Linked DNA regions of Homo sapiens: region 2 is linked to region 1. The links are contacts of gene promoters, found by promoter capture Hi-C in human tissues and cell types (Jung and others, 2019). All regions are on one chromosome and are shown on one strand. Each heading gives the region's core, a stretch centred on a gene start or on the middle of the fragment in contact. The rest is flanking DNA. Distances are from core to core; before and after follow the strand shown.

What was found. The method cuts DNA at HindIII sites, captures the fragments that hold promoters and counts their contacts. A contact is called where the count stands out against the background at its distance.
Region 2: a contact is called between a fragment that was not itself captured here and the fragment with the promoter of ITM2B in region 1, in 1 of the 25 tissues and cell types used here (mesenchymal stem cells).

The regions. Positions count from the first base shown.
Region 1 is chr13:48,231,804-48,234,503 of GRCh38, reverse strand. ITM2B (integral membrane protein 2B) reads right to left here and starts at 1,298. Exons shown (of 6, transcript NM_021999.5): 1 at 1,027-1,298. The coding sequence starts at 1,143. RefSeq lists an enhancer at 90-787 and silencers at 843-1,052, 1,063-1,422. The HindIII fragment of the contact is 16,899 bases long and covers 1-2,700 here.
Region 2 is chr13:48,605,180-48,608,157 of GRCh38, reverse strand. No RefSeq gene overlaps it. Among named protein-coding and RNA genes, the nearest start is that of LINC01077, 16 kb to the right of the region's middle. The HindIII fragment of the contact is 7,734 bases long and covers 1-2,978 here.

The sequences.
Region 1 (2,700 bases), core at 49-2,548:
AACTAAATTTACCCTACTGATAATAGGTCTTGAAAAATGCTAACAACAACAAAAAATAAGATAAGCAACATAACTTTACAGTTAATTTCTAATTTTTGCAGCCTAAAAAGGGTCTGGGTAAGAGGCTGTGGGCTTTTTTAACTTATGAGACAATTACACTCATATTTAAGTAAATATGATCGTAACCTACTAAAAGTCAACACAGTAACAGCCCCACTTCATGAATTTTCCTAGGATTAAAGGGAGATTTTGTAAAATAAAGGAGAATTTTATTAGGGACCCGGGGGCAAATTTCTCATGTTTAGTTTCACGCAGCAGGAGTCCTCACAAAGACGCTGATACAATTTAAATGCCAACAATTGGTTTTTCACTAACATCCACATAGTCATTACTGGCCTTTACTAGTAATGGTAAGAGACAGCCCAAACCTACTTCGGGCGGACTGTCCCTTCGTCCCCTCTCCAGGTGAAGTTCACCTGCCACTACCGAAGGGCCGTGGAAAAAGGAGGTAAAGAAACGCTTTTAAAATTAAGACGCTTACAGTTGCTGGACTTAGTCCAAGTGCTGTTCAAGCCTAGAAACGAAAGTGGGAAACAACAGAGGTTTAGGCTTGTAATGATGTCAGCCATTTTAGGTACATTATTTATACTGGGAAGGAAGTGCCAAACTCGGTTGTTGTTGTTGTGCCTGTCGCTGCCGGTCCCCAGATCGAACAAGCCAAGTCCTGGCTGCACGCACGCTCCCCGGACTGCACAAACGACCGGGAATTCGGCACAATTAGCCAATCGTTCCCTCTCCAGGCCTCCCAAGCCCCCGACCCCGCGTCAGGCACCGCTTCCAGCACACGCACTTCCTTACAAAGGAGCTGCGGACCCACAGGAAACGGGAGCGCCGGGCTCTCTCGGGGACTTGTCCCCGCGGCGCGAGCCCCGCGCCCGCCACCTCGGGGCGCACTGCCGCTGCAGTCCGCGCAGCCCTCCCCGGCCGGGCCCAGCACCCGCTTCCTCGACCTCCCCGGGCTCGGACCTTGCAGTCCACCGCGACGGCGTCGGGGGGGATGATGAGCGCCTCCTCGCCGCTCTTGGGCTCGTCCTTCTTGGCCTCCTTCTGGGCCAGAGCGGAGTTGAACGTCACCTTCACCATGGCGCGGCCTGGGGCGCCCTCGAAGGGCGGCGGCGGGCTCGGGGCGCGGGCTGCGGGCTCCCGGCTGCGATTGCAGCCTCTACGGCCGGGCTCCGGGAGCGGCTCCGGGCGGCTGAAGAGGTTCGGGAAGCTCCGCGGCGGCAGAGGCGGCTACTGCGGTAGGGATCTCGCAGCCTCCCAGCTCCCGCGCGAGGGCGGAGACTGCTCGCACATCCCCTGGGAGGCGGGGCGGGGGCGGGGGCGGGGCCAGCGGCCGGGGGTGGGGTGCTGCGCGGGACCCTGCCCTCGCCCCGCAGCTGGGCGCCGGATCCCGGCGCGCCTCGGAGAGGGATGGGTGTCCCTCTGGGCCGCCTGGAATTTCCAGTTCTGAATTCGCTCCCAACCAGGTTACCTCCAGGCCGAGTGCTGCAGGTTTGTAGCGAAATCGAGTGAACTTTCCTGAGTTCGCCGGGTACAAGGGACTAACCTTTGGCAGCACCAGACCGCCGCTTCCCTGTACCCTGTCCCCACCGCGAGCCTAAAGGCCATGGAATTTTTGTGCATCCACATCTTCATTTTCTCACTTATTAGGTAACCGACTCAGTGGAGCACAAACATGTTTAAAGCTCTCTGTCCTTGAGATCTGACTTTATCTTTCACGGACCTCACCCAAGGGCGTTTACCTGGCTCAGACCTGCCTGGTCTTCCTTCCCTCTCTCAGGAGGTCAGGGCCTGTTCTGCCTAGTCCCAGACCAATGTGGAGGAAGCTCTTGGCAGATTTGTATTTCAAACATCTCACACTCGTAAAACGAAATGTTCCACTCTTGTGCGTACTTGGAAAAAAACCACATGCACACTTGGCTGATTTGTGACTCAAAGTACTCGATGACGAGTCCCTTTATTTTTCTGCAAAATGAAAAAATAATTAAGGATAACGCAAAATTCTCATGTTTTGAAGACGTTTCATTTACAACTAATGCGAGGTAGAATACTGGCTCCCGTCGTTACTGCGTTCATTACTGTGTCAACAGACGGCCCCCTTGGACAAATGTGTTATCTTGTATCCTTCCACCCCATTCTGTCCTGGTTCATCCAGAGTTGTGGGTGTGCTCTAGAATGTTACAGCTGTGTCAGCTCTGCCTTGGGCCAACCCTGAAAAAAGTGGGTTCAGTCTGAGATCTTTGGGGATTTGGCCCTGCTCAAGGAGGGAGTTGGGTATTTCCATAGAATGTCAGATCATAAGTCCCAGGGAAACAGCCCAAGATCTCCAAATCCTTCTGTTCATGTATTTCAGAAGCATCCTGGGCTGAGATAGAAACCCAGGCCAGACTTTGAGTTTGCTTTGGGTATTCAGAAATTCCTGTCAAAATGAAATCTGCTCAACCAAGAGGAGGATGAGTTAGGTTCCAGTTCTGGTGAGTTTTAACAGTAGCTAACCATACTTGCAGCAACTTATTTAAACTCCTGGGTCGCCCTTGTGCAGGCATCGGCTCTGTGAGGTTGACTCTATGGACTGGACTTTCATAGTATCTAATGTTATCTAATTCCTCAAAGTCAACGACTGCTTCCAGCTCCCTA
Region 2 (2,978 bases), core at 147-2,646, 370 kb before region 1:
ACAATATACCAAAACCTAGGGGATACAGCAAAGGAAAGACTAAGAGGGAAGTTTACAGCTATAAGTGCTTACATCAAAAAAAAGGAAAAACTTCAAATAAACAATCCAATGATGCATCTTAAAGAACCAGAAAATCAAGAGCAAACCAAACCCAAAATTAGTAGAAGAAAAAAATAATAAAGATCAGAGCAGAAATAAATGAATTTGAAAATAAATAAACAATACAAAAGATCAATCAAATAAAAACTTTAAAAAACAAAAGACTGATAAATCTTTAGCCAGACCAACTAAAGAAAAATGAAAGAAGACCCCAAAAAATAAAATCAGAGAGGACAAGGAGACATAACAACTGATACTGCAGAAATTCAAATGATCATTAGTGGCTACTATGAGCAACCATATGCTAATAAATTGGAAAATCTAGAAGAAATTGATAAATTCCTAGAGACACACAACCTACCAAGATTGAACCATGAAGAAATCCAAAACCTGAACAGACTAATAGTAAGTAATTAGATCAAGGCCATAATAAAAAGTCTTCTAGTTAAGAAAAGCCCAGGACCCAATGGTGTTGCTGCTGGAGTCTACCAAACATTTAGAGAAGAACAAATACCAATCCTACTCAAGTTGTTCTAAAAAACAAAGGAGAGAGGAATATTTCCAAACTCATTCTACAATGCCAGTATTACTCTGATACCAAAACGCAAGGAAGTCAAATTTTAAAAAAGAAAACTATAGGCCAATATCACTGATGAATATTGAGGCAAAAACTTTCAACAAAATACTAGCAAACCGAATTCAACAACACAATAAAAAAAAGGTCATTCATCATGACCAAGTGGGCTTTATCTCAGGGATGCAAGGATGGTTCAACATATGCAAATCAATTAATGTGATACATCATATCAACAGAATGAAGGACAAAAACAATATGATTGTTTCAATTGATGCTGAAAAAGTATTTGACACAATTCAACATCCTGACATGATTAAAAAAAAACCGTCAAAAAACTGGATATAGAAAGAACATACCTCAAAATAATAAAAGCTATATTTGACAGACCCACAGCTAGTATCATATTGAATGGGGAAAAACTGAGACCCTTTCCTCTAAGATTGGGAACATGACAAGAATGCCCACTGTCACCAATGTTATTCAACACGGTACTGGAAGTCCCAGCTAGAGGAACTAGACAAGAGAAAAAAATAAAGGGCATCCAGCCAGGCATGGTGGCTCATGCCTGTAATCCCAGCACTTTGGGAGGTTGAGTCAGGCAGATCACTTGAGGTCAGGAGTTTGAGACCAGCCCAGCCAACATGGTGAAACCTCATCTCTACTTAAAATACAAAAATTAGCCAGGTGTGATGGCAGGTGCCTATAATGTCAGCTACTTGGGAGGCTGAGGCAGGAGAATTGCTTGTACCCGGGAGGCAGAGTTTCCAGTGAGCCTATACCTCACCACTGCACTCCAGCCTGGGTGACAGAGCGAAACTCTATCTCAAAAACGAAAGAAAGAAAGGGCATCCAAATTAGAAAGGAAGAAGTCAAATTTTCCTTGTTTTAAGATGACATGATCTTATATTTGGAAAAACCTAAAGACGCCACCAAAAAACCACTAAAACTGATAAGCAAATTCAGTAAATTTGCAAGATACAAAATGAATATATAAAAATCAGTAGCATTTCTATATATCAACAGCAAACAATCTGAAAAAGAACCAAGAAAGTAATCCCATTTACAATAGCCACAAATAAAATAAAACACCTAGCAATTAACTTAAACAAAGAAGTAAAAAATATCTACATTGAAAACTATAAAACATTGATGCAAGAAATTGAAGAGGACACACAAAAAATGGAAAAATATTCCATGTCATAGGATTGGAAGAATTAATATTGCTAAAATGTCCATACTACCCAAAGCAATCTATAGATTTCATACAATTTCTATCAAAATACCAATAACATTCTTCACACAAATAGTAAAAACAATCCTAAAATTTATATGGAACCACAAAAGACCTAGAATAGGCAAAGCTATCCTAAGCAAAAAGTATGAAACTGGAGGAATCACATTACCTGACTTTAAATTATACTACAGAGCTACAGTAATCAAAATGGTATGGTACTGGCACAAAAACAGACGCAATGACCAGAGGAACAGAATAGAGAACCCAGAAATAAATCCATACATCTACAGTGAACTCATTTTTGACAAAGGTGCCAAGAACATACAGTGGGGAAAAGACAGTCTCTTCAATAAATGATACTGGAAAAAACAGACATCCATAGGAAGAAGAATGAAACTAGACCCCTATCTCTCACTATATACAAAAATCAAATCAAAATGGATTAAAGACTTAAATCTAAGACCTCAAACTATGACAACCAAAGAAAAAACTGAACAAATGAGATCACATCAAATTAAAAAGCTTTCACACAGCAAAGAAAACAATCAATAAAGTGAAGAGACAAGAATAGGAGGAAATATTTGCAAACTACCCACCTGACAAAGGATTAATAGCCAGAATGTATTAGGAACTCAAACGACTCTGTAGGAAAAATCTACTAATTTGTTTTAAAATGGACAAAAGATCTGAATAGACATTTCTCAAAAAAAGATATACATATTGCAAACAGGTATATGAAAAGGTGCTCAACATCATTGATCATCAAAGAAATGCAAATCAAAACTACAATGAGATGTCTCACTCCAGTTAAAATGGCTTTTATTCAAAAGTCAGGCAATAATAAATGCTGGAGAGGATGTGGAGAAATGGGAACCCTCGTGCACTCTTGGGAATGTAAATTAGTGCAACCACTATGAAGAACAGTTTGGAGATTTCTTGAAAAACTAAAAATAGAGCTATCCCACCATCCAGCAATCACACTCCTAGGTATATACCCGAAAGGAAATCAGTATATCAAAGAGATATCTGCACTTTTTTCTTTTTTTTGAGATGGAGTTTTGCTCTTGT